Regions from separate parts of the Homo sapiens genome. Here all the other regions are linked to region 3. Evidence: promoter capture Hi-C in 16 types of primary human blood cells and fetal thymus (Javierre and others, 2016). All regions are on one chromosome and are shown on one strand. Each heading gives the region's core, a stretch centred on a gene start or on the middle of the fragment in contact. The rest is flanking DNA. Distances are from core to core; before and after follow the strand shown. Region 1 overlaps LOC105377676 (a long non-coding RNA gene). Region 2 overlaps LSM11 (LSM11, U7 small nuclear RNA associated). Region 3 holds the start of FNDC9 (fibronectin type III domain containing 9). Region 4 has its middle 31 kb from the start of SOX30. Region 5 overlaps CLINT1 (clathrin interactor 1). Region 6 overlaps SOX30 (SRY-box transcription factor 30).

The links. The method cuts DNA at HindIII sites, captures the fragments that hold promoters and counts their contacts. A CHiCAGO score of 5 or more calls a contact.
Region 1: a contact is called between a fragment that was not itself captured here and the fragment with the promoter of FNDC9 in region 3, in 5 of 17 cell types (activated CD4 T cells, neutrophils, M2 macrophages and 2 more). The highest score is 7.7, in activated CD4 T cells.
Region 2: a fragment that was not itself captured here is called in contact with the fragment with the promoter of FNDC9 in region 3 in 1 of 17 cell types (naive B cells); the score reaches 6.9 in naive B cells.
Region 4: a fragment that was not itself captured here is called in contact with the fragment with the promoter of FNDC9 in region 3 in 1 of 17 cell types (neutrophils); the score reaches 5.4 in neutrophils.
Region 5: a fragment that was not itself captured here is called in contact with the fragment with the promoter of FNDC9 in region 3 in 1 of 17 cell types (activated CD4 T cells); the score reaches 5.8 in activated CD4 T cells.
Region 6: a contact is called between a fragment that was not itself captured here and the fragment with the promoter of FNDC9 in region 3, in 1 of 17 cell types (activated CD4 T cells). The highest score is 5.2, in activated CD4 T cells.

The regions. Positions count from the first base shown.
Region 1 is chr5:157,696,224-157,701,000 of GRCh38, forward strand. LOC105377676 (a long non-coding RNA gene) reads left to right here. Exons shown (of 3, transcript XR_941129.3): 1 at 1-80; 2 at 2,576-2,703. Among named protein-coding and RNA genes, the nearest start is that of C5orf52, 27 kb to the left of the region's middle. The HindIII fragment of the contact is 9,921 bases long and covers 1-4,777 here.
Region 2 is chr5:157,752,961-157,757,380 of GRCh38, forward strand. It overlaps LSM11 (LSM11, U7 small nuclear RNA associated), which reads left to right. Exons shown (of 4, transcript NM_173491.4): 3 at 1,044-1,127; 4 at 1,894-4,420. The coding sequence ends at 2,304. Among named protein-coding and RNA genes, the nearest start is that of LSM11, 11 kb to the left of the region's middle. The HindIII fragment of the contact is 6,812 bases long and covers 1-4,420 here.
Region 3 is chr5:157,342,277-157,347,075 of GRCh38, forward strand. FNDC9 (fibronectin type III domain containing 9) reads right to left here and starts at 3,401. Exons shown (of 2, transcript NM_001001343.4): 1 at 3,265-3,401; 2 at 1-1,267. The coding sequence starts at 1,260. The coding sequence ends at 586. The region is part of intron 23 of CYFIP2 (cytoplasmic FMR1 interacting protein 2); the gene reads left to right. The HindIII fragment of the contact is 2,139 bases long and covers 1,843-3,981 here.
Region 4 is chr5:157,619,045-157,623,745 of GRCh38, forward strand. No RefSeq gene overlaps it. Among named protein-coding and RNA genes, the nearest start is that of SOX30, 31 kb to the right of the region's middle. The HindIII fragment of the contact is 7,544 bases long and covers 1-4,701 here.
Region 5 is chr5:157,811,507-157,815,899 of GRCh38, forward strand. It overlaps CLINT1 (clathrin interactor 1), which reads right to left. Exons shown (of 12, transcript NM_014666.4): 4 at 2,679-2,787; 5 at 1,557-1,721. Among named protein-coding and RNA genes, the nearest start is that of CLINT1, 45 kb to the right of the region's middle. The HindIII fragment of the contact is 1,473 bases long and covers 1,129-2,601 here.
Region 6 is chr5:157,644,350-157,649,126 of GRCh38, forward strand. It overlaps SOX30 (SRY-box transcription factor 30), which reads right to left. Exons shown (of 5, transcript NM_178424.2): 2 at 4,308-4,547; 3 at 2,288-2,467. Among named protein-coding and RNA genes, the nearest start is that of SOX30, 5.7 kb to the right of the region's middle. The HindIII fragment of the contact is 4,220 bases long and covers 1-3,777 here.

The DNA of each region.
Region 1 (4,777 bases), core at 2,142-4,641, 350 kb after region 3:
CACCTATAAGCCTGCTGTTCAAGATGGCCTAGCAAACTGGTCAGTTACGAACTTTGCTGCAGGTCCCTGAAAAAAACTGGGTGAGGTTTCCCTCTTGTCTTGTATGTCCTTGGGAGCTTGACCTTGTAACCTAACCATGTGGCTGTGCTTTCTCTTTTCACAGTGGTGGCCCAGGTTCAGGGCTCAATTCATGGCTTAGGGAAAGAGTTGTTTATCATCTAACTGTCTATACATTTTTTTATTTTTGAGGTGGAGTTTCGCTCTTGTTGCCCAGGCTGGAGTGCAATGGTGCAATCTTGGCTCACTGCAATCTCTGCCTCCCGGGTTCAAGTGATTCTCCTGCCTCAGCCTCCCAAGTAGCTGGGATTACAGGCGCCTACCACCATGCCCAGCTCATTTTTGTATTTTTAGTAGAGGTGGAATTTCACTGTATTGGCCAGGCTGGTCTGAAACTCCTGACCTCAGGTGACCCACCCGCCTCGGCCTCCCAAAGTGCTGGGATTACAGGCATGAGCCACCGCACCCAGACTTGTCTATGTATTTATATGTATTATGTGTGTGATGTTTACATATGAAAGAGCTTTGATTAATTGGCTTAAAAATAATTAAGTGCACCAGACATGGTAGCCAACACCTGTAATCCCAGCACTTTGGGAGGATGAGGTGGGTGGATCACGAGTTCAGGAGTTTGAGACCAGCCTGGACAACATGGTGAAACCCTGTCTCTACTAAAAATACAAAAAATTAGCCGGGTGTGGTGGCACACACTGTAATCTCAGCTACTCAGGAGGCTAAGGCAGGAGAATCGCTTGAACCCAGGAGGCAGAGGTTGCAGTGAGCACAGATTGTGCCATTGCACTCCAACATGGGTGACAGAGCAAGACTCCATCTAAAAAGAAAAAATTATAATAATTAAGTGCTTAAATCAAATATTTTGTGAGAAAAGTAAAAAGTGTAATGCCCTTTATTTAGTTCATGTGACTTAAGTAACCTTAGGGAAATAAATACAGTTTTAAAGATTATTAGTAAAATAAAAATACCTTTAAAAATGTAAACATTTGTCCTAAATTATGCAGGCCAGATATTAGGTTTGCTAAATGCTTTAAGGTCATAAACTGCTTCTTCGACTTTTGAAAATTGTTCAATTTACCTACCTTGAAGACATTAAATTCCAGATAAGGTCTAGGGATATGTGGTGTTAGCCATACCCCCTAGCAATGCTAGAAAAAGTCAGACCTTGTCTTCACTTCTGTTGAGGTCCTAGGCTCCACACCTAGTACATAGTTAAAATTGCTTACTAACCAGGGTTTTCACCAAAAGTCATAATTGCTGAAAGTTATCATTGTAACATGTAATTGAGACTATTGAAGAAGTAGTTCTACATGTAAGGTGTGTAGGGAAAGTGAAATGTGTTTTTTTGGTAAAAGATTATAAGAAGTCATGTGACTAAATTTTCTTGCCTAGATTAAAGGGTTAAAGGATTGTTTTAAGTTAGGTAGAATAAAGCTGAAGTTTTAAGCAAGTTATGGAAAGTTGTGGAAAATTAATTGTAAGAAATTCTGTGTGTGTACATATTGGCTAAAGTTAAAGGGGTATTCAATTTTTCTGCAAATAAAACATTGGAATAAAAGCACAACAGGTTGTGGGTTTTTTGTTGTTGTTGTAGTTGTAGCTTGTTTTTCTTTTTTTTGAGACAGAATCTGGCTCTGTCGCCAGGCTGGAGTGCAGTGGTGCGATCTTGGCTCACTGCAACCTCCTGGGTTCAAGCGATTCTTCTGCCTCAGCCTCCCAAGTAGCTGGGACTACAGGCTCGCACCACCATGCCCAGCTAATTTTTTTGTATTTTTAGTAGAGACGGGGTTTCACCATGTTCTTAGAGCAAAAATCTGCTTATGATCTGCTCTTTAACGAAAATTTGTAAAGGGTTATAAAAGGTTTGTGAAAATTTTACTTAGTTGTCAAACTGATTAAGATTGAATACATTTGCCTATAAGGTTTTATAAAGAATTGGGTTTGTCATCAGTAATGCTCTAATGCAACAGTGACATTTGGCTTATTTGATACAAAAATCATTCAGGAAGCATTATCAAATGTAAAATGGTGTTTGGATTTCTTTGGGCTGTATTTGTGTAAATGTGTTATTGGTGTGTCTTCCACAATTATAAAAAACCTCATAATTCTGATATGACTTAGTGTATGTTATGAATAATTATAATTGTTACATAAAATTATTATATGCCACAGAAGGAACCAAATTTCCTTATCGATTGTGACTTTAATAGTGGCTGTCCTAAGACTTTTTATCATCCACACACAATTGTTGTCTTCTTTTAATCCTCTTCAAAAGATGGTTTGTTATCAACTATAGAACTCTAACAGGGGTTCTTAAATGCAGGTTTCTGATAACTTTGAAAATTTTGACAGTAAAATAAAACAATTTCAGAACTCTCATGGAGACCTGAAATGTTCGTGAATATCAAGCAGAACAGGAGTTAACTGAATTGACTGAACCAATAGAGGACTAATCTTTTTAACTTTGCTTAAAATGCTGCTGATCCTTTGTTTTGTTTTTCAGAGTCAAAGAAACTTTTCTTTTGAGCTGCTTGCAGCTTGTAGCAATTGAGTAAAGTATATTGCTGTGAATAACATTTGAGGCATATTTGTTTCTCTCTACCTAATTTCTCCAGAATTTGGAAATTATTTGTGAGTATTCTTACATTACGGCAATATAGTTATTTGCATAAGTGCAATAAGAATCTGTTTTCTTTTGCAACGGGACAAATTGGAAACACTGATTATTTTACCAACGATTTGACTGGAATGGGGTGTTTTCCTTTAAGGAATCAAACTTGACTTGTAAAGCCAATAAAAGCCCCTGGGGGAATTGGCCTCAGACCTTGTCTACAGCAGTCCCTGTACAGTGTTTCTGACCTATGGTAAGTACAAAAATGTCACTTTCTGACAGGTCCAGGATCCCCAAATTATCTTGGGACCACAAGAGGAGAGGAATTTACTCAACTCATAGGTATTTGAGAGTACAAACCCATGGGCTCAGCTCTAAAAAAGTCTTATCTAAGATACCTTCTATGGAACAGAGTTCCATCAAAGCCAATTTAAAAAGAGATTATGTAAAAAATAATTATTTTTGCTGCACTTTATACAAATAATCAGACCAAGCATAATAAAGCAAATCAGTCTTACCGTGATTTGTCTTTAGTAAAAATGGGAAACTGGAGACAGAACTTACGTTTCAAAAACTGGCTGGGTGCCTTGGCTTATGCCTGTAATCCCAGCACTTGGGGGGCACAGGGCAGATCACTTGAGGTCAGGAGTTCAAGACCAGGCTGGCTAACATTGTGAAACCCTGTCTCTACCAAAAATACAAAAATTAGCCAGGCCTTATGGTGGGCACCTGTAATCCCATATACTTGGGAGGCTGAGGCAGGAGAATCACTTGAACTTGGGAGGCAGAGGTTGCAGTGAGCCAAGATTGTGCCACTGCACTTCAGGCTAGGTGACACAGCGAGATTCTTTCTCAAAAAAAAAAAAAAAAAAAAAAAAGACAGCAGGCCAGTTCTCTATGAAATGTGCATACTGTGCCTTCACAGATCCAGGTAGTGTTAAGCTGTCCCTAGGTAGACACCTCTTTATCAGACAGGCAGTTAGTTGGCTAGTCTCAACTTTCGTGTATTTCTGGTTTGTATTTGATATAGAACTTTGGGCCTCAGAGATGTCAGAGGACATAGTTCAGGCTCTTGAGCTTATATTGAAGTGGGGAGCATCCCTTTGTGAGGGAGAAAGGTGGAAATTGTAAAGCACTTGAGCACCTCCCCAACGAAAATTTTCTCTTTCACCGACTCTTTGAGAACCTTGAGGGGCAGGGCATGGTGGCTCACACCTGTAATCCCAGCACTTTGGGAGGCCAAGGCAGGTGGATCACTTGAGGCCCAGAGTTTGAGACCAGCTTGACCAACATGATGAAACCACACCTCTACTAAAAAAAAAAGTACAAAAATTAGCCAGGTGTGGTGGCATGTGCCTGTAATCCCAGCTACTTGGGAGGCTGAGGCAGAATTGCTTGAACCCAGGAGGCGGAGGTGCAGTGAGCTAGGATTGCATCTTTGCACTCCAGCCTGGGCAACAAGAGGCAAAACTCCATCTGGGGGCAAAAAAAAAACAGAAAAAGAAAAAAGAAAACATTGAGGAAGGTGTTGGGCTGAGGTGCAAAACCATTTTTTTGGTACTTTGAAAATCTCTGCATGGCTGAGTGCGGTGTCTCATGTCTGTAATCCCAACCCTTTGGGAGGCTGAGGTAGGCAATTCACCCCAGGTCAGGAGTTCGAGACCAGCCTGGCCAACATGGCAAAACCCCATCTCTACTAAAAATACGAAAATTAGCTGCGTATGGTGGCACACTCCTGTTATCCCAGCTACCTGGGAGACTAAGGCAGGAGAGTTGCTCGAGCCCAAGAGGTGGAGGTTGTAGTGAGCCAAGATAGTGCCACTGCACTCCAGCCTGGATGACAGAGTGAGACTCCGTCTCAGGAAAAAAAAAAAAAATTAGCCAGGTGTGGTGGCCTGTGTGTGTAATCCTAACTATTCAGGAGGCTGAGGCTGGAGAATCACTTGAGTCCAGGAAGCAGTGGTTTCAGTGAGCTGAAGTTGTGCCATTGCACTCCAGCCTGGGCATCAGAGTGAGACCCTGTCTCAAAAAAATAAATAAAATAAAATGCCCTGACCCCTGAGGAGAGATCCACTTAGAATTTTATTTTTGGTT
Region 2 (4,420 bases), core at 1,914-4,413, 410 kb after region 3:
GGATAAGAACAGTAGCTGCTAACATATATTGAGTACCTGCTATGTGCCAGGTACTATACTGAGGGCTTCATATATTATCTCAATGAATGAGTTGTGGGTACTATTACTGTTCCATTTCACAAATGAAGAAATTGATTCTAGAGAGATTGGAATGTTGGTCGCAGATCACACTGTTAGTAAGTGGAAGTGCCAAACTTTTTCCTCGGCCTAACTCCTAAAACCATGTTTTTAACCATTAGGGAATTTGAATCCTAGCATCATCACTTGGTAACTGTGTGACTGTAAGCAAGATAATTTCTCTGAGCCTCAGTTTTCTCATTTCCAAAATGCAGGGAAAAATGTTTTATTATGATCTTTTTACCTTTGAAGAATTGAAGAGAATGTGTTAGATGATAGTGGTGATTATAACAGTACTGTCAGCTTCTATTTGTAGGGTGATTTACACTTTTCAAAGGAATTTGTCTTGTACTTCTCATTTGGTCCTAACAGCTGTCCTGTCGAGGTTGCTCTCGGTGATGAGAACTCACCAGCAATTCTGTGTGTAACCCTGGTTAATCTCTGTTAATTGCTTTCATAAGACATAGAAACTGAAGCGGGTAAAGAAGCAGTAATGTTCCTCAAAGTGGGATCTAAAGCCATCCTGCATCAGAATCACCTGGGGCTTCTGGTTGAAACAAAAGGTTCCTGGGCTTCATCCCAGACCTACCAAAACAGAATCTCCAGCAGAATAGCTTTGGGTTCGTATTTTAATAAACCTCCTAGATATTCTTGCACACTGAAATTTAAGACCTTCTACCATGCAGTCATAAAGGCCCTTACCATCCATAGGTGAAACCCATCTTATATGGTGATAGCAGCTTAAAAATATTACACAGAAGGTACCAGGTGTCACCATTTTCTTCTGCCTAGGAGCTGAGTCATCTGTTAAGTGTAGTTCTGCTCTGAATAGATGTTACTCTGCCTTTTTTTTTTTCCCTGAAAAAGCTATACAAATAATAATTTTAATTCTGTCTAATGTTTTTCCTTTTGGGCTGTTCCTCTAGGCACTTACTGATGTGGATGAGACCTACCGAAAACCTGTCCTAGGCAAAGCATATGAACGGGATTCTTCACTGACTCTCACTAGGGTAGGCAGTTTTCCCCTGACCTCCTGAGTAGCCATCATGCTTTCCAGCTTAGGAATTAAGATCCCTGAGCCCAGTGACTAGGATTTCCTAGAGGGAAATCTCTGTTGCTATAAACCAGCTGTGCCTGTACCAAGGTATTCCTTAGTTCCTCTTTTCATGCTTCCAGTGAATCTCAAGTGAGTCTGTGCTTGTAACCTGCATATTATTTGAGGAGCAAGTTGTCTCTTACAACACCTGAAAGTCTTTCAGCTTTATACCACAGAAATAAGCCTTTTCTCTTGACATATGTATTATGTGCATTATAGTTAGAAATAGGAAATTTATGGCCAGGCGTGGTGGCTCATGCCTGTAATCCCAGCACTTTGGGAGGCCGAGGCGGGTGAATCATGAGGTCAGGAGATCGAGACCATCCTGGCTAACACGGTGAAACCCCATCTCTACTAAAAATACAAAAATTAGTTGGGCAGGGTGGCAGGCGCCTGTAGTCCTAGCTACTTGGGAGGCTGAGGCAGGAGAATTGCTTGAACCTGGGAGGTGGAGGTCGCAGTGAGCTGAGATCGCACCACTGCACTCTAGCCTGGGCGACAGAGTGAGACTCCGTCTCCAAAAAAAAAAAAAAAAAAAAAGATTTATTACTAACTTTTAAAAAATTGCAAAGCAAGGAGTCCACAGAACATAATTAAAGAATTTGGTCTTTTTCTGTATGTTGAAAGAGGGTGATGAAGGCTAAAGAGAAGGCTAATATTTATCATTGTTTGCTTTATAGCTATTTGATCGGCTGAAACTTCAAGATTCCTCCAAGAAGGAAGCAGATTCTAAGTCTGCAGTTGAAGATTCCACTCTGTCTAGATACTCACAGACATCCACTTGGAAGTTGGCTTCAGTGTGGGGAAGAGCAGACACTGGCCGGGGCTCACACAAGCGTTCCCGCTCTGTCCCTTCTTCCCTGCAGGCCTCTGCAAGGGAGGAGTCCAGGTCAGAGCTGTCAGGGAGGACTACACGGACAGACGGCTCCAGTGTGGGAGGTACCTTTTCCAGGGCTACCACCCTTTCCAGAGGCCAGTCCCGTAAGAAAAAGCGAAAGCCCAAAGTGGATTACCAGCAGGTATTCACTCGACACATAAATCAGATTTTCATTCGAGGCGAGAATGTCCTGCTGGTTCATCTTGCACAGTGACCAGCTCAGCCTGAGCTTTGGTTTTTAGAAATAAAGTGCATGAATTGCTGCTATGCTGTATCCTAGTATCCCAGTGAAACTCTGAGTTGGAATGATTCCCTCTGGTCCTGCATATGCAGAGGACGGAGCAGGCTCAGCCCCCTGGAAGATGAGCTCAAGGGGAGGACAGGCCTTGGGAGGGCAGGCGTTTGCATTAATATCAAGGCAAAAAGCATTCATAGATACATGCATCTGATTTGGTATTGTGATTTACTTCAGACCCTGAAACCAAATATCTGATCTTCCATTAGACTTAGGGGTCATGATATGAGTGGAATTTACATTTTAGATACTATAGGGGAAAGAAAAGTCTCAAAAAGAAGTATTGCATGTCTAAAAGCTAGTGCCCTGAGTACTCATGAATTCGATTCCAAGAGTAGTGGTGTAAATTGCCTTGGAGCCCTGCATCCACGTCTTGTAACTAACTTTTGAATTTTGCCTGACATGATTCTCTCTTGATGAAGAAATGACATATATTATCTTTGAATATCTACAAGGAAAGTTACCAACTTATGTAGGGGTGAAATTTGGATAGGCGGTATGCTCAAAGCAGCCAGCAATGAGTGCTCTGTTTTGATCCTTCTTCTTATTATGGAAAGGAGTACAGGACCTCTTCAGTCTTCCCCTTACCAGAGGTAGCCTCTGCAAATGGCATACCAGATGGGACTCTAAGATGCTTGTGTGGTGGCTTCTTGTCCTTCTCTTTGACTTCTGTGGCATGGTGCTAGTGCATGTACCCTGTGGTATTGCCCCTCTGTCCGTAGTGTGAACTGTCCTGTGAGCTTTATGTCAGGAGACTGTGACCTTCATGTCCAGCTTCAAAGAGTTGTGCATGAACTCGGTAATACACATCACACGGCTGAGAGTCCCCTTTCCAGGCAGGGCCAGCATGTGTAGAATATCTTTCAGAATATGGTTTCACCATGAAACAGGGGTGGTAGATTTATTCCCTTGTGTCAGGCCAAAGAAGTTCTTACAAAGTACAGTGGGTAGTGTCTAAAGCGACACTTTACTCACAGCCTGGCTTGAGTCAACAGGAACACCATAGCACCCACAAATACTTCTACTTGAATCATATTCTGTGCTTTTTCAATCACTAGTGCAGAATAGGCTGCATTTGACACAGACTGTTAGGCAATATTGATTTTTTTGTTTTGTTTTTATTTGGTTTTATCTGAGATAACTTATGTTCAAGGTGAGAATAAGAAATAGCCAACTAGTTAAAATGTATGAAAAGAAAACTTTCCCCTGCTGTATTTGTTGTGTAACATAAATAAGCCTTCTGAGAAGCAGGGTGAATAAAGTTTAGGGAGCTGGGACACCTGGTCCTGCTAGCTGGACCACTGGCTCATCATGCAATGAAAAGGTGAGCAGACTTAACCCCTCCGTGCCTCAGCTTTTTCCCCACAGACACCTACCTCACAGGGGCATTGAGAAAAAAAAAATGAAGGCATTTTACAGTCTCTAAACATCTTTAAGTGCCATGAGTAATTTTTCCTGACTCTGTTTCATAGCTTTGTAAGAATTCTGTGTCTTTATAAGACACAGAAGCAAGGCAGGTGCTACATAAAAAAGTAATCTCAGCCAGGCACGGTGGCTCACGCCTGTAATCCCAGCACTTTGGGAGGCTGAGGCGGGTGGATCACAAGGTCAGGAGATCAAGACCATCCTGGCTAACACGGTGAAACCCTGTCTCTACTAAAAATACAAAAATTAGCCGGGCGTGGTGGCGGGCGCCTGTAGTCCCAGCTACGTGGGTGGCTGAGGCAGGAGAATGGGGTGAACCCGGGAGGCGGAGCTTGCAGTGAGCCAAGATTGCACCACTGTACTCCAGCCTGGGCGACAGAGCAAGACTCTGTCTCAAAAAAAGGAAAAAAAAAAAAAGTAATCTTAGGGTTCATAGTTATGATCCTGTTGTAACTATCTTCGGAAGGCAGCAGTATCTTCTGGAACTTCCATATTCCATTCCTTCCTCCTAAGGGACAATGGAAGTTCTCAGAAGAGTATCTTCAGTAAGAGGAGAGTAACTTTTTTTTTGCTGCTCCCGCTATATCCCAGGCCTCACCCTTTTCTGATC
Region 3 (4,799 bases), core at 2,151-4,650:
AATGAGTCAATTTAAAGGAAAGTATTATTAATAATAGTGAAGATAATCCATGGTTTTAAAAAATAGAGAGCGGTGGTATGTGATTGCCTAAAAGTTGGAAAACACTCCAGAGCAAGGGTTCTCACAAATTATTTCCAAATAATCCCAAATTATTTCCAAATAATCCCCTCAAGGGCAGAGGAAACTGGACATCTACCTTTGCCCAAAAGTGTACCTCTGAGAGCCTACTTGTAACTCAAGTGTTTCCTTCAAGTGCTGTGTTTTATTTGTCATGCAAATTTTTGCTTTCTACTTTATAACATATCCATGTTTGTTTTAATGTTAAAACAATGCTTTCAATTCTTAACTGTGTCCTCCGAGTGGACGCTGCTGCTGAGATGCCTCGTTTGTGCCTTGGCATACCCTGGGGGATACATTTTCCAGCTTGAGAAGCTTTGTCATGGGGCATTCATCCAACCCAGGTGACCTACAATAGCAGTGACGTTTGATGGGAGAGAAATGGGTAGTCTATAGACACATTTGTACAAACGACCTACTGTGTGGAAAGCTTTAGGCTACATGATGCGGGCGCTCTCCTCCCCACTCTCATTCCCCACAATGAGGCAGTATAGCGGGTGGGTCACCACCCCCCCTCTGTAAGGCACCCGCATCAGGGGCATCCTGGTTGGCTTCGGGATCCAGTTCAGCTCCATCTCTGGAGTTCTTGCGTGGCATTTCCACCAGGGGGAGCCCCTGCAGGTCTTCCTCCCTCTGACCAAGATCCGGGGCCTCCTCTGGCCATCTCACCAACCCATTGGCCTCCTCCATGTGGCCAGCCCTGTAAGACCATCGCGGCTCATGGCAACGGACACACCAGAACTGGAGGCAGATGAAGGCCAAGACGGCTGTGAAGCAGGCCAGCAGAATGGCCATCAGCACCCAAAGGGAGATCTGGGGGTCTACCAGGGAGCTTCCAGGAGCCAGCGGACTCTTATCCAGGGTGTGGAACATGGTGCAGTAGTGCCTGTAAGGGAAGGCAGCCTTCTTACAGCTGATGCACAGGAAGTAGAGAGTGGAAGGGGCAAGATGTTCCAGCACCACGGAGCTGATCGTTCGAGGCACCTTCTCCTCGTGGTGGAAGCTGTAGCGAAGATAGCCAGAGAAGATGCTGTTCCAGTTGGGCCTGTACATAATATGGTAATAGTCCTCCAGGCAGGGCTCCGAGGACGACCAGGAGATGATGGCTCCTGTATAAGAAATGTTCCCCACCTCGATGTTCATCCCGATTCTGGAACCAGAATCAAAGTGAAGAGTGACATCCCCTGATTTAAGTATGTATTTATCATAATCATAGCCACCATTTATTGCACATTTGAGACGGGCACTCATGTTGCCCTCATCTTACAGACAAAGAAATGGAGGCCGAGAGGTTCTGTTATTTAGGCATAGCGAAAAAGTGGCAGGACAAAAGTTAAAACTGGGGCTGTCCCATGCCAAAGTTCAGGCCTAAGAACAGATGCACCCATGCAATCCCAGCCACATCCCACCCTAGCTGAGATCCTTCAGATAACAAAGGGGATTTTCTTAAGGGGATTGTTCTCATCCCCTTAAGAAAAAAGAAGAAAAGGTAAGGAGAAATCAGTAGAACCTCAGAGGCTCCACCTTTATTCTCAGGTCTGTGACCTCCCCTCAGGCAATTGATTCACCTCAATTTTCCTTCTTGACCTCCTGTTTCTGCTCCAAGTACTGTGAGCTCAGTGATCTAGAACATTCTGCCCACTGCTTTTTTTAGCCTCCTGGTTCTGTTGCCCATGGTGAGTGGAAATTCGCTTCGTCACTCTTTGGCAGCTGATCTCACCCCAAAGCTTCTGCTCTTGTTTTGTTTGTTTGTTTTTTCAAAGCCAGCGGTACCAGGAAATTTATTTTATGGGTGAAGATAATCAGCCCCTAATATCAGCATAACTACCACTATTTAATTCTGCTGTTATTATGAATGTTAATCATGGTAATAACCACTCACAGTAAGTGGTTGCTATGTCACTTGTCATGCTAGATGATTCACAGGCAGTAATTAATTTCCTTTATTCTTCATCACATCCTCTGAGCTAGATTCCCATTTTACGGATGAGCAACCTGATGTCACACCGCTAATACGTAGAAAAAGGACTTAGTGCCGCCTAACCACTACATTTCCTAATGCAAGGCTGCCGGGTTTAGTTACAGACGTTATCGCAAAATGAGGTGCCAGGACTGAGACCCAGTTGCTGTTTTTCCAGACAAATCAAATGAGCCCTCTTTAGATTGCCAGGCCCCGCTTTGATAAGAGAGAGCCATCTTCAAGTATTTTAGTTTCTCTCATGCAGTTCCCTCTACTGATTGCCCCTGATCAGAAATACAGAGACAGTCATAGTCAGCCTACGCATATTCACATAACAGTCTCACCCTGCTTTGTCTTCCGCCTCTCCTCCCTCACATGAAACCCCGTAGGTTTCATTTTGGGTTGCAGTGACATAGTAAACAGCTGTCAACTGGATTTTCGCCTGCATTGGATATTAAGCCAAACCAATGGCTATTATGACCTGCCTTTCTCTCACCTCTGCTTTCCCCCATCCTCTTGTGTTTGTGCCCATTTTCCTCCAGGAGTGGAGCTGCAGAAAGGTGCACAGCATTGAGTAGTTTCTTAATCCTTGTTTTTCTTCTGTAAGGGTAACAGTGAACTAAGATACTCAGGAAGGTGAATAGTGTCTTTCTATGTGGCTGAATATTTCTTCCCAGTAAATAGGGAACGAAAGGGATGAGACGGATGTGCTCAGACCCTTCCAGGGAAGGTCATCATGAAGGAGACCGAATGTTTATGTTTCCTAGCTTGGTGTCCTCTACACACTCATCCTCCCCACACCACACATCACTATAAATACACTTTCGACCACGATGAAAAGAGCTTAATTCATTATAGGCAGCCACCTGTGTAAAACCTTTCCATCAGGAGTAATCAGGAATCCTGTTTCTTGTCACGCACAAATGTTCTCTTGGCTTCCTATCTGCCACTAGCTGTCTGTACAGATGGAATTACCTCAGCAGACATTTTTAAGAGCTTTCTGTCAAGACGCAAATAGCATCCTCACCTTTTAGGACCAGGTCCGTCTCCCTTATTGATTTTTCTTCCTCTGTTTCCGTTTCTAAATTCTCCCCTATTTTTAACTATTCATTTGCCCGGCCCTTCTCCAAGCAGAGTGTGAAAAGAAGCCATTTCCATTTCCAAGAAGAGCCATCTATATGTCTTACCTGATGCTTGCAGCGTGTCTGGTTAGAGCTCTGCCCTCCGAGGTGCAGTAGATTAAAGCTGAGAGAATGGGGCCTTCTCCCTCCTCTGCTCTGGGCTTTCCGTGTTGTTTCTCTCAACACTGAGTAATCCCACTGCCGCCCCTAATGCTCACATTATTCATTTCTTCAGATCAGCATCATTCACCATGGCAACCAGCAGGCATCTGTACGCACGATGCTTTCAGGGACCAGCCTGGAAAGGCTTTTGCCCAGTGAGAGGAGCTCTCATTCCTTTGGCTGAAAAAGGGCAGATGATCCCCTGAAAACTGGTCCCCAGTGCAGTACTAATTCTTCTAACACTCCTACATTTTCTCCCCAGTTGGCTGATTATTATTTTCTTGTCCCATCTAGATCCTCTTTGGCCAATGGTTTTAAATGCAAAGATGCTTTTCTCAGTTATTCCACAACCAAAGCAGTAATATTCATCTTCATCCCCTCCCACCCCTACACTTCCCCATCCCAACTGCCTACCCCACCTCTTTATCTTCATCTTTCTTTATTCTTGACTCATGTGCCATTACATAGTTATATGGTACTGGTCAAGACCCTTTTATTTTTATTGTCTGAGTCTCAGTTCCACCATCATCTGTAAAGCTGTGGGCTTGGGCTACATCAGGATGGCAGATCAGAAGGCAGAAGACCTGAGCCCTATCCCTGCACAGCCCTGAACCCCTGTCAAGCTTGCTAAACCATCATGGCACTCTCACTGGGTTGAATAATGCCCCCCCAAAATACATATCCATCCAGAACCTTAGGATGTGACCTGATTTAGAAATAGAGCCTTCGTAGATATAACTAGTTAAGGATCTCAAGATGAAATCTTCCTGGATTTAAGGGTGAGCCCTAAATCCAATGACTAATGTCTTTGTAAGAGAAAAGACAGAGAGACTCAAGGGGAAGAAGCCAAGGGAAAACAGAGGCAGAGAGTGGAAGGATGCTGCCATCAGCCAAGGAACACCGGGAGCCATCAGCAGCTGGGAAGGCAAGGAAACATTCTCCCCTAGAGCCTTGGAGAGGGCATGGTTCTGCGAGAGCCTTGATTTCAGGCTTCTGGTCTCCAGAACTGTGAGAGAATAAATTTCTGTCATGTTAAGCTGCCACATTTATGGTAATTTGTGATAGCAACCCTAGGAATCTAATGCAGCACTGCTTCCAGCTGGGTGCAGAAACAGCCCCAGAGTTCCTCTGAACACAAGCGTCCCAAGAAACTGCTTCCCAATCAATCAGTTGGAGTTGACGCCAGAAATGGAAACTGTTTGCTACTCCTGGATTGAATCATCCCCAGCGTTCCTTTCCTTTCAAGAATCCAGACTGCTTGCCTCCCCTTTTCTCATAAAGGGCCGTCTGGCTTTGAGGTTCCATCCCTTCCTGTTCCTTTCAACCTTGTAAGAACCCATTGCCACCATTCTATTGAGATCACAGGGTGTGTCTGGAATAGAGGGTGGAAAGTAGCTCAGATAGATGTAGACCTGAATAAATTTATACACATTATATGT
Region 4 (4,701 bases), core at 1,030-3,529, 280 kb after region 3:
GTTTTACCACAGGCCCACCCCTATCTGCCTAGGCATTTGGCAGCTGCCTGCCACTCTCATTAGGGTGACCAACTCATCACAGTTTGTCCAGGAGTTTCCTGATGTTAGCACTGAAAGTCTTATGTTTGGGAACCCCCTGCTCCTCAGTCCTGTGCAAACCAAGACCGGGACAGTTGGTCACCCTAACCTTCCATACAGCTTAAAAGAAAAGACATTCTCCAGGAGGAGGAGTCAGCCTCCACAGTGTCCCCAGGGAGCACAGGCAAAAACTTAGCTTTCTAAAGAAAAAACAAAAATACAGGTAAGGTGCTGTTCTATAGATAGATAGATAGATAGATAGATAGACAGATAGATAGATATTTTTTGAGACAGAGTCTCGCTCTGTCACCGGGCTGGAGTGCAGTGGCGGGATCTTGGCTTACTGCAACCTCCAACTCACTGGTTCAAGCGATTCTCCTGCCTCAGCCTCCTGAGTAGCTGGGATTACAGGCGCGCATCACCATGCCTGGCTAATTTTTGTATCTTTAGTACGGATGGGGTTTCACCATGTTGGCCAGAATGGACTCGATCTCCTGACCTCGTGGTCCTCCTGCCTTGGCCTCCCAAAGTGCTGGGATTACAGGCGTGAGCCACCGTGCCGGACCTGCTGTTCATTATTTTAAGAAATAGGACATTTCGGGCAGGGTGCAGTGGCTCATGCCTGTAATCCCAGCACTTTTGGAGGCCGAGACAGGCAGATCACTTGAGGTCAGGAGTTCAAGACCAGCCTGGCCAACATGGTGAAACCCCATCTCTACTAAAAAAAAAATAGAAAAATTAGCTGAGAGTGGTGGCACGTGCCTGTAATCCCAGCTACTCTGGACGCTGAGGCAGGAGAATCACTTGAACTGGGGAGGTGGAGGTTGCAGTGAGCTGAGATCACAGTACTGCACTCCAGCCGGGGTGACAGAGTGAAACTCCATCAAAAAAAAAAAAAAAAAAAAAGAAAAGAAAGAGAAGAAAAGAGAAGAGAAGGGGAGGGGAGGGGAGGGGACATTTCGGCCAGGCACAGTGGCTCACGCCTGTAATCCCAGCACTTTGTGAAGCCAAGGCAGGCAGATCACTTGAGGTCAGGAGTTTGAGACCAGCCTGGCCAACACAGTGAAACCCCATCTCTACTAAAAATACAAAAATTTAGCCGGGCGTGGTGGTGCACTCCTGTAATCCCTCCCAGCTACTCGGGAGGCTGAGGCAGGAGAATCGCTTGAACCCAGAAGGCAAAGGTTGCAGTGAGCTGAGACTGCACCATTGCACTCCAGCCTGGGCCACAAGAGCGAAACTCCGCCTCAAAGAATAAAAAATAAAAAAATATATATAGAAAAGAACATTACCCTTAAGTGGTTTCAGAGAAGGAGCCAGAGATGTAAAGGTGTTGTAAGCACTTTCCTATTTCTCCTCTCTTCTTACAAATGTTCATCACTTTGAGAAAATTTTACTAAGATTTGTGCATGTTAAACTCATCATCACAAAGGAGAGATTTGTAAAGCTGGATCGGGTGGTCTGAAAGCAGAATTCAGAGATAAAGGGTAAAACTGTAAAGAGGATGTGAAATTTTTCATCAAGTAGAATTTGATAAAAGGCAACTCCTACACTTGTTTTTAGATAAGTAGTTTTATTGTGATGCCTTTGAAAATTCTCTTAAATCCTAAAAAGTTATTAAGATGACCTAGAAAGCTAAAAAAAATGATGTGTCCCAGCAGAATCTGTTCCAACATGTAGGACAAAAAATTTTCAGAATTACTCTGCCCACATCAAAATTTTACTACTTTAAAATATTGCAAGCAGTTCATAGAATCTCCAGAAATTCATTTCAAAATCAGTTCCAAACTACAATTTTCAAAAGCAGTTCATATTTTTGGCTCAGGAGTAATCCTACCAACAGCTGGTTGACACAGTGAAAAACATACTTGTGTATCTATTTAGCACATTTGCCTACTTGAATTCTTGGGTGCAAATCAACTTTCCTTAAAAAGCCAGTTTAAATAGAAAAAGAGGGACTCCTCCCTAACTCATTTTATGAGGCCAGCATCATCCTGATAACAAAACCTGGCAGAGACACAACAAAAAAAGAAAATTTTAGGCCAATACCCCTGATGAACATCAATGCAAAAATCTTCAATAAAATACTGGCAAAACGAATCCAGCAGCACATCAAAAAGCCTATCCACCACAATCAAGTCGGCTTCATCCATGGGATGCAAGGCAGGTTCAACATATGCAAATCAATAAACACAATCCATCACATAAACAGAACCAATAACAAAAACCACCTGATTATCTCAATAGATGCAGGAAAGGCCTTCAACAAAATTCGACACTCCTTCATGCTAAAAACTCTCAATAAACTAGGTATTGATGGAATGTACCTCAATATAATAAGAGGTTTTTATGGCAAACCCACAGCCAATATCATACTGAATGGGCAAAAGCTGGAAGCATTCCCTTTGAAAACTGGCACAAGACAAGGATGCCCTCTCTCACCACTCCTATTCAACATAGTATTGGAAGTTCTGGCCAGGGTAATCAGGCAAGAGGAAGAAATAAAGGGTATTCAAATAGGAAGACAGGAAGTCAAATTGTCTCTCTTTGCGGATGACATGATTGTATGTTTAGAAAACCCCATCGTCTCAGCCCAAAAGCTCCTTAAGTTGTTAAGCAACTTCAGCAAAGTCTCAGGATACAAAATCAATGTGCAAAAATCACAAGCATTCCTATACGCCAATAATAGAGAAACAGAGAGCCAAATCATGAGTGAACTCCCATTCACAATTGCTTCAAAGAGAATAAAATACCTAGGAATACAACTTATAAGGGATGTGAAGGACCTCTTCAAGGAGAACTACAAACCACTGCTCAATGAAATAAAAGAGGACACAAACAAATGAAAAAACATTCCATGCTCATGGATAGGAAGAATCAATATTGTGAAAATGGCCATACTGCTCAAAGTAATTTATAGATTCAATGCTATCCCCATCAAGCTACCATTGAGTTTCTTCACAGAATTAGAAAAAAATACTTTAAATTTCATATGGAACCAAAGAAGAGCCCATATGGCCAAGACAATCCTAAGCAAAAAGAACAAAGCTGGAGGTATCACGCTACCTGACTTTAAACTATACTACAAGGCTACAGTAACCAAAACAGCATGGTACAGGTACCAAACCAGAGATATAGACCAATGGAACAGAACAGAGCCCTCAGAAATAATGCCACACATCTACAACCATCTGATCTCTGACAAAGCTGACAAAAACAAGCAATGGGGAAAAGATTCCCTATTTAATAAATGGTGTTGGGAAAACTGGCTACCCATAGGCAGAAAACTGAAACTGGACTCCCTCCTTACACCTTATCCAAAAATTAACTCAAGATGGATTAAACACTTAAACATAAGACCTAAAACCATAAAAACCCTAGAAGAAAACCTAGGCAATACCATTCAGGACATAGGCATGGGCAAAGACTTCATGACTAAAACACCAAAAGCAATGGCAACAAGAGCCAAAATTGACAAATGGGATCTGATTGAACTAAAGAGCTTCTGCACAGCAAAAGAAACTATCATCAGAGTGAACAGGAAACCTACAGAATGGGAGAAAATTTTTGCAATCTATCCATCTAACAAACAGCTAATATCCAGAATCTATAAGGAACTTAAACAAATTTACAAGAAAAAAAAAAAACCATCCAAAAGTGGGCAAAGGATATGAACAGACACTTCTCAAAAGAAGACATGCATGCAGCCAACAAACATATCAAAAAAATCTCATCATCACTGGTCATTAGAGAAATGCAAATCAAAAATACAGTGAGATACCATCTCATGCCAGTTAGAATGGCAATCATTAAAAAGTCAGAAAACAGATGCTGGAGAGGATGTGGAAAAATAGGAATGCTTTTACACTGTTGGTGGGAGTGTAAATTAGTTCAACCATTGTAGAAGACAGTGTGGTGATTCCTCAGGGATCTAGAGCCAGGAATACCATTTGACCCAGCAATCCCATTGCTGGGTATATACCCAAAGGATTATAAATCATTCTACTATAAAGACACATGCACACGTATGTTTATTGTGGCACTATTCACAATAGCAGAGACTTGGAACCAACCCAAATGCCCATCAGTGATTGACTGGATAAAGAAAATGTGGCACATATACACCATGGAATACTACGCAGTTATAAAAAAGGATGAGTTCACATTCTTTGCAAGGACATGGATGAAGCTGAAAACCATCATTCTCAGCAAACTAACAAAGGAACAGAAAACCAAACATCGCATGTTCTCACTCATAAGTGGGAGTTGAACAATGAGGACACACGGACACAGGGAAGGGAACATTACACACCAGGGCTTGTCGGGGGGTGGGGGTCTAGGGGAAGGATAGCATTAGGAGAAATACCTAATGTAGATGATAGGTTGATGGGTGCAGCAAACCACCATGGCACGTGTATACCTATGTAACAAACCTGCACGTTCTGCACATGTATCCAGAACTTAAAGTATAATTTTAAAAGCCAGTTTAATAGCCAGTAAATTAACAACAATTATAAGTTTCAGTTTTTCAATCTTTTAAGACCATTAAGATACAATGAAGAAAAGTTTATTCAGCCAGTGCTTTCACTAAGGAATTTGAACTGCCCAATGCAGAAAACCATG
Region 5 (4,393 bases), core at 615-3,114, 470 kb after region 3:
TGGATGACAGAGCAAGAATCCTCAAAAAAAAAAAAAAAGAAAAGAAAAAGAAAAAACACAAAACTGCTAAGAGTGATTAGTTAAGTCTGAATAACATAAACCATGAACAATAACTTAGCAAAAGGATGTGATGCAAACACACAGGATATCCAACTCTATCTTTAATACAGATGCTGCAGTTAGTGCATTGTGACTGAGTTTGAAAACGTATTCAATTTTCTAAGTTTAGCTGATATAATTATATATCATGCTGGCAAAAAGAAAGATACAAGCAAGAATAGTGTGGAAATAAGTTTCAAATAGCAATTTCTATTAAAAACACATTAAGTTGCTACAACTACTTTGAAAAACCTGAAGAATAAAGTTACTACTTGGGTAAATAATCCAAAAACTTTGGACTTCCCCAAATAGAAACTTCAAAACATTATTTATATGCTTTAGGAGAAATATTTTTGCCCAATTCAAAAACTAACTTGTGGCCGACTCTGGTTGCACTGCCTATGAGTTAGCCCTATTTAAAAAAAAGAAAAAGAAAAAACTAACTTGTATTTGATGCTTCAATATAAAAAAGGGAATTTTTCTGCTGTTAGAAACATCCTTAAACAGCTAACTAAACGCAGTGTTTTTTCTTTGAGAGTGGGAAAGCAGAGGAATAAATGAGTAAGGATATTTTATATGTTAAGATTTTTACATGGTTCCATTGAAGGAGATATGAGAGCTCAATATAATCCAAATATAAACATATATGGGTGGGGGGAGCTGGAGAGCCTCAGTGAACAGCTGCTAAGATACACAGCACTGGCCAGTCTGCACATACACAAAATGAGCAAGAGATTGTCAGAGCTCACAGAAGACAGAACAAGTCCAAAGGGACATGCCGTGAAAGACAGTTCCTATTTTGTGTATCTGCTTCAAGCACCTATGCCCTATTTTAGAGAAACTATATTATTATATTAAAAATAAACATGAAAGATGAATGTTCTAGCTGCTCTTAAGTGTACTGGGAAGAATAAACAAAACAATAGGCCTAGATGAAAAACTGCGAGTATCGTCAGTCATCTTTTATATGTCAAAGTATGCAATGCTTAAATAAAGAAAGAGAGACTGAGGCTGGAATGACTGTCAGGAAGCTTATCTGGTTTGGGCCAAAAATACAGCTAAATTGGTTTCAAATTAGAAAGATGGATCTCCTGATCAAACTTTTTATTTTTATACTCTAAACTCTGAGTTATAGAAACTTTCTTCCCCCTTCTTTTTAAAATGGCAATCCTAAGAGGGAAGGGCATATATCTGTTTTAATCTCTGTATGACACCTCAAAATATGCAGTCATTTAATTAGCCATTAATGGTTAAAATCCTATTGCCGAACCCACAAGTTAAAAATAGGAAGATTCATGTGATAGTAGAAGTCAAGATTAGTACTGCGTGTATTTTAGTATTCTATGTATTCCTAGAAAAGAAAATTAGCATTTTGGTCTTTGGTATTTCACTGATTCTTAAAATATACTCAAGAAGCTAAGCTGATGCTTAGGTGTCAGCTTGTCTTTGATACTCACTGTATCTGAATCCTCCAACACTGTCTGAGGAAACCCCAACATACTTGTCTTTGTTCTTCTTTGCTTTCTTTCGCTCTTCACGAAGCCTGTCGTCATCCTGGGCAAATTCAACCAATTCCTTCACCTTCTGTCGAATATTTATACCTTGATCCTTACCATGCTCATCTATGAGGATGGTAAGAGATAAGCAAAACCTAAGAATTCACTTAATATGTATCAAGCTCTTTAAGATTAAAAAAAAGACACAAAAACTTCAACATAAGAAACTTCAATATTTAAAAAACAATAGAAAGGGGCAAGTTGTGCTATTTAACTTTGTCATTTCCTCTTCAGCAAATTCTAAGTTCTAAAATGGAATTTTGGCTTATAAGAGCATGTAAAGATGAACTAAAAAGGACCACAGATAATGGTACTATGCAAGGTCAATTAAAGATTGACCTAAAAAGGATTACTGATGATGACCACACAAAATAGACATATCCATAAGTGCTATTGTGTTTTTCTATCATATTTTAAGAAAACAAATCAAAAGAAGAACCACTTTAGCATGTTAATAACTGAAAAGCACACAAATGTCTTGGTTTCCCCAGTACACGTCTGGAACACTAATTATGAGGTTTTAGCATAGCTCAAAAACTGAATTTTTAAAGTGCTTACAAGTGGGGTACGCTACAAAATGAAATGTGCTTCATTTTCTAGCCTCTTTCACATTCAAAACACACTGTGGCCTTGCTGCCTTTGCACAGTAAATATTATTTGGTGGGAGGGAAAAAAACCCCAGCTTCAAACAGATGTGTGTGTTTTGGAGCTCTAACCTTTTCTTCCCATATGATTAAAGCTATTCCTTTATGGACACCACAGGGGACCAGTCTCCAGTGCATATTTTAATATAAACCCGAACACTCATGTTGTGTTGGTTCTGTTGTTATTAGCCAGTCTTTTCTGCAAGTTCTTGTCTTCACTAATTAATACTCTAGGGCCCCACGTCTTGGATTCTGCACTCGTCACACAACCAGCAACAGTCACATTCTAATTAGAGCAGAGAAGCTTCTAAGCTGGTTCAGGTGACTGACAACTCCAACTACTGTTTTAATTTGCTTATAAGGTTTTTCTATTGCTTACCTACAAAGTGGTAATTTTCCAGGGATCGTAAATCATAAATGTGTTCTCTGGCACTTGTAACAACACGCTCTGATCCATTCCTTATGAGGTAAGCTAGGAGCAGCAACGACTGCAAAAATACAAAGCAATAAATGATTTAATGAAATATATTCTAGTAGAGCTTTGGTAAATGGTTAAAAAAAATAATTCTAACATTAGCAAATAAAGAATCTTCATGCTGGTGGTGAGGTTTCTTTACATTAGACTTTAAACACATAATCTAGAACTTACATAATCAATTTGAAGTTCCTCTTATATTAAGCATGATAAATAATTATAAATCATCTACTGGATACTATGTGTCAAAGACTTAAAAGAATAACACTGATGTTCAAAATATCAGAATGCTTGATATAAATAGACAATAAGGTTTTAGAAAGCTGACTCAGTTTTTACTTTTTATCTGAGCATTATGGAACTGTGAATTGCCAGAAATTATTTGGTAATTAAACAATCCTATAGTATTTTCCCCAGATAAAATTTAATTTTGAGGTTAATTATGTGGCTTTTGTTTTAAAAGGTTGTGGCCAGGCTCAGCGGCTCATGCCTGTAACCCCAGCACTTCCTGGGAGGCCGAGGTGGGCGGATCACTTGAGGTCAGGAATTTAAGACCAGGTTGGGCAACATGGTGAAACCTCGTCTCTACTAAAAATACAAAAATTAGCTGGGCATGGTGGCCCACGCCTGTAATCTCAGCTACTGAGGTGGCTGAAGCACAAGAATCACTCGAACCCAGAAGGTGGAGGTTGCAGTGAGCTGAGCCCGCACCACTGCACTCCAGCCTCGGCGACAGAGAAACTCTGTCTCAAAAAAAAAAAAAAAAAGATTGTTACCAAAAAATAATAATTTAAACAACCTGAAGGTAGAAAATTTTGCAAAATAGACATCTTCACACATACACACACACACACACACACACACACACAAATAGCTGGGTATTGTGGCGCACACCTGTAGTCCTAGCTACTTAGGAGGTTGAGGCAGGAGGATCTCTTGAGCCCAGGAGGTCAAGACTGCAGTGAGCCAAGGGCATGCCACTGCATTCTGGCTTGGGTGACAAAGCCAGACTGTCTTAAAAACAAACAAACAACAACCAACCCCCACCCCCAAACTAAATTTTGTTAAAATGTAAATTTGGAATGACTGCTAATGGGTGTAGGGTTTCTTTACAGGGTGATAAAAATGTTCTGGAATTAGACAGTAGTTACTCCTACAAAACTTTGTGAATATACTATATAATAAATTGTACATTTTGAACTTAACAATGCTTGGAACAAACCTCACTTGATCAGGTATATGAAAATCTAGTTAGGCGGAAAGGAGGGGGTGGCAAAAACAAAAAAAATTTAGTTAGGTTGGTAAAACTGAGGGACACAAAACCTCCTTCTACCAGTAATTTACAGCCATGTGTCACTTAATGATGGGGATATGTTCTGCGTAATGTGCCATTAGGCAATTTCGTCATTGTATTAATATCATAGAGTGTACTTACACAAACCTAGATGGTATGGCCTGCTACACACTGACAATCTATAAGACAACCTATTGCTCCTTGGCTACAAACCTGTGCAGCATTGTTACTGTAATGACTACTATAGGCAGCTGTAACACAATGCTGAGTATTTTTGTATCTAAACATAGAAAAGGTACAGAACAAATAGAGTATTATAATCCAA
Region 6 (4,777 bases), core at 418-2,917, 300 kb after region 3:
AAACAAAAAAATCATTCTTGTCTTAGATTTGATTACTGTTGTGCATAGCTCTGAAGTGCTTCCTATAATTCTGCCTACCATACTTAAATACAACATCATGGAGAAAGAACCCTACCAACATTAGAAGAAATCTTCCAGTTTCTACTAAACCCTTATCTTTGCTCAGAATGGCATAAAATTAATGTATCAAATGTCAACTGTTTCAAATAAGAACGTTGTTAATTCTGTTTCTGGGAAGAGAAAATATACAGCATTTAACAGTGGGTAGAAGCAGATGTAAGTGAGGTCTTGGAAAAAGGGATAAAAAGAAGAAAATTATATTATGAAAACAGAAATCATAACATAACACAGGCTGGGCATGGTGGCTCACCCTGTAATCCCAGCACTTTGGGAAGCCAAGATGGGTGGATCACTTGAGGCCAGGAGTTCGAGACAAGCCTGGCTAACATGGTGAAACCCCATCTCTACTAAAAATACAAAAATTAGATGGGCATGGTGGTGTGCACCTGTAGTCTCAGCTACTCGGGAGGCTGAGGTGGGAGAACTGCTTGAACCCAGGCGTCAGAGGCTGCAGTGAGCCGAGATCGCGCCACTACACTCCATCTTGGGTAACGGAGCAAGACTCTGTCTTAAAAAATAAATAAATAACATAACAGAAAAACAAGGTAAGTGAACAAAGTCATAATTAAGCCTGGGTTGAAATACAAGATTAAAGAAGTCACTACCAAACAGTGAAGACTGAGAGTGCCTGCCTGTGCTAGGACAGAACAGGGCTATAGGATCAGCTTTCTGCATCTCTCTCTTGAGTCTAGACATCTGGAATGTAGCTTGTTGCTATCAATTGCTAAAATGATACATTAAAAAACAACAACAACAACAACACTGAAAATGCCTAAGATTCTAAGAAGTCAGTTTCCAAGGTATCTAAAACTCTCAGCTCATATGGGTGGCTTTATTACCAGAAGGATTTAAAGAGGTTAAAAAAAAATAGAAAAAGCAGGTTTACGCAGTCTTAGTAGGTTTAAGAAAGTGGGCCAGATATGGTGGTTCACACTTATAATCCTGGCACTTTGAGAGGTCAAGGTGGGTGGATCATTTGAGCCCAGGATTCGACACCAGCCTGGGCAACATGGCAAAACCCCATCTCTAAAAAAATACAAAAATTAGCCAGGCATGGTGGTGTGCACCTATAGTCCCAGCTACTAGGGAGCCTGAGGTGGGAGAATCACTTGAGCCCAGGAGGGCAAGGCTGCAGTGACCTGTGATGCTGCCACTGCACTCCAGCCTGGGCAACAGAGTGAGACCCTGTCTGGAAAAAAAAAAAAAAAGTGACAGCAAGTAGTGAATGTATAAAGCTCTCCCTTAAAGATGGTTAAAACATGTTCTGGGGGCCAGGCGTGGTGGCTCACACCTGTAATCCCAGCAGTTTGGGAGGCCGGGGCGGGCAGATCATCTGAGGTCGGGAGTTCCAGACCAGCCTGACCAACATGGAGAAACCCCATCTCTACTAAAAATACAAAATTAGCCGGGTGTGATGGTGCATCCCTGTAATCCCAGCTAGTCGGGAGGCTGAGGCAGCAGAATTGCTTGAACCCAGGAAGCGGAGGTTGTGGTGAGCTGAGATTGCACCATTGCTCCAGCCTGGTCAACAAGAGCGAAAACTCCATCTCAAAAAAAAAAAAACTGTTCTGGAAAAACAAACCAATGATGGATAGCCCTATAACAAGTTATTAAGATATTAGGTTGTCAATTTTTGGTTCTTAAAATCAGTAACAGGAATGTAAAGAACTCAGAGGAGACATTTAGAGAGATTAATATAATGAACCAAACAAATATTTGGTAGAAAATAGATTACTTCCACTGCTTTTCTAGAGCAGTGAGAGAATGGTCTCAACAAATCAGTATCATTACTAAGTTCCAGGACAGGATGCCTCATACCCCATTAGCAAGGCAGTCTTTTATGCTGTTAGTAAAAAGACTCTCCTTTTTCCTATTGAATTACCTCAGTTATTTCCTGCATTATCTGCCTAATCTATGGGCTCATCCTGATTTGCTTAAAAGGTCTGAGGTTTTACACATGGATTATTTGCTACTCTGGCAAACCAAGTGTTTTGATCTCTACTGAAATTTTTCCTTCTCCTATTTAATGTTCTCACTTTCCCTCTTCTTTTTTTCTTAACATTGTTGTTCCAAATTCTTAAGACTAACAGAAAGAACACTTCAAACTTGAGGTAAAATTTTCTTGCAGCTATTTAAAAAATAGTAATCTACAATAAAACTAACTCACCAACTGGATGAGTGATGGGATTCTGTAGGCTGGGAATTACCACAGAGTACGTAGGTGAGCGGTAAGGATAAACTGTTGTAGGATTTGTAGAGATGATATTCTGTGTGGTACCAGAAAATACATTGGAAACACTTAGAGGGAATCGTTTTCGCTTCCCTGGACGAGGCTGATAAACCCAACCTATAGAAGACAAAATATGTTTAAATGTGTAGACTCCATTTAGCCTTTAAATAATTTTTTTCATACTAAAATGCAAAGCACTTTAAAGTGTTTTAAAAACAAATTATTGTCTAAAGTATCTTTTCCAGCTCCGGGATATTATTTCAGTGAATGACTTCTCCACTGTGTATTTTAACATACATATCCAAATAGCTCCTGACTAGTGGCCAATGTTATAACTCATCATTGAAAAGAAGAGGGTCAAATTTTTTTTTTTTTTTTTTGAGACGGAGTCTTGCACTGTTGCCCGGGCTGGAGTGCAATGGCACAATCTCGGCTCACTGCAACCTCCGCCTCCCAGGTTCATGTGATTCTCCTGCCTCAGCCTCCTGAGCAGCTGGGATTACAGGTGCATGCCACCACACCCGGCTAATTTTTTGTATTTTTAGTAGAGACGGGGTTTCTCCGTGTTGGCCAGACTGGTCTTGAACTCCTGACCTCGTGATCCGCCCGTCTCGGCCTCCCAAAGGCTGGGATTACAGGCGAGAGCCACTGCGCCTGGCCAAGGGTCAAATGTTTTATAACCAATGACACAGAATGAACCTGTAGTAGAGTCAACATCAAAACCGCTGTATTTGAATCCCAAAGCCTTTCCTCCACCTTATCAAATAATGCCTCACTATGACATTATTCATCTCATTTCCTCACTTTCTGTAAGTTACAATCATCTATATCTTACAATGCAATAGTCACTAATGATCAGTCACTATTTTTTTTGAGACAGAGTCTCACTCTGCCGCCCAGGCTGGAGTGCAGTGGCACGATCTCGGCTCACTGCAAGCTCCACCTCCTGGGTTCATGCCATTCTCCTGCCTGAGCCTCCCAAGTAGCTGGGACTACAGGTGCCCAACACCATGCCCAGCTAATTTTTTTATTTTTTTTTTTAGTAGAGATGGGGTTTCACTGTGTTAGCCAGGATGGTCTTGATCTCCTGACCTCGTGATCCACCCACCTTGGCCTCCCAAAGTGCTGGGATTACAGGTGTGAGCCACCGCGCCTGGCTGATCAGTCACTAATTTTGTGCCTAGTTCAAGAAGAGTCACTCTCCTAAACTCAGCAATCTCCAAGTCCACAAATAACTTAATTTCTTCCAAAGTCAGAACAGTGGAACTATGGCATTTGCAGCCACTGTGTAATCAGAACAATCACTGGTTCACTGTAGTTGCTGCCTCTGACCTTCATTACTAGAACCTCTCTGCCAATATTTCAGAAAATAATAAGTTTTGTCCCACCTTGCACAGACATGCTGGCCATGCACTGTGCATTTTCCAAGCTTAATCCCAATGTTCCCACTGCTAGGGAGAAATCGGACTCCTTTCACACTATATCATGACAGGGCTAAATCTATCAATCAGAAGGCAGGACTATGTTCTGACAATCATATGTTAAAATGGAATATGGTGACAATCCCTGCATTCTCATTAAGCGTAGACTGCATTTTTTTTCTGTTGCTATCATTTTAACACTTCTATAGTTTACTTGCAAAATTATAGCCTAAAGCTTTCAAGATGTACTTTCATTAAACTTACATCTATCTAAATCAAAACCACAATAAAACTGCGTGTCCTCTGATTTGTATGAGTTGGTGAATATGAAATCAGATATCCCTTTGCTTGGTTCTATTTAAGGAAACTCATGCCCAGTGTCATTTCAATCATTGTTATAATATTAGTCATTATTCTCTTTATTGTACATATCAGAAAAAAATTATATATTTTTGTCTTTCAATCTCAACCTACCCTAATCTTTAACTAAATAAATTCATTTAAAAGAAGTAAGAGGCATTATTTAATTTGATTACCAGGAAATTCCTCTCTGTGCTTTTCCTTAATCTTTTGTGCTTCATCGTAATAGGGTTTCTTTTGTTCTTCACTAAGTTTGTTCCACTCTAACCCAAGCTGGACACTGATTTCTGCATTGTTGGCTGCTGGGTTAGCTTTGGCTAGTGCTGGTCGGTGGATCCTTGCCCAAACCATAAATGCGTTCATGGGTCGCTTCACATGACCATTTCTGTCCTTACTGAAGGGAGTATCTGGTATGCCTACATGACAAAAATTAAAAGGCTAAATTAATGTGCCATACACACACACACACACAATTTTAAGGTAAAGTGCACCTCCGTCTATACTTATTTTTGAAATATCTGGAGGAAATATACACTTCAATATAACCAAAAAAACCTGCCAGTATTCCACAATTCCTTACATCCCCTGAACTCATCATTCTGAACTGTAGTTTAGAATGACTCCTTTTCCTCAAAGAGGATAATAT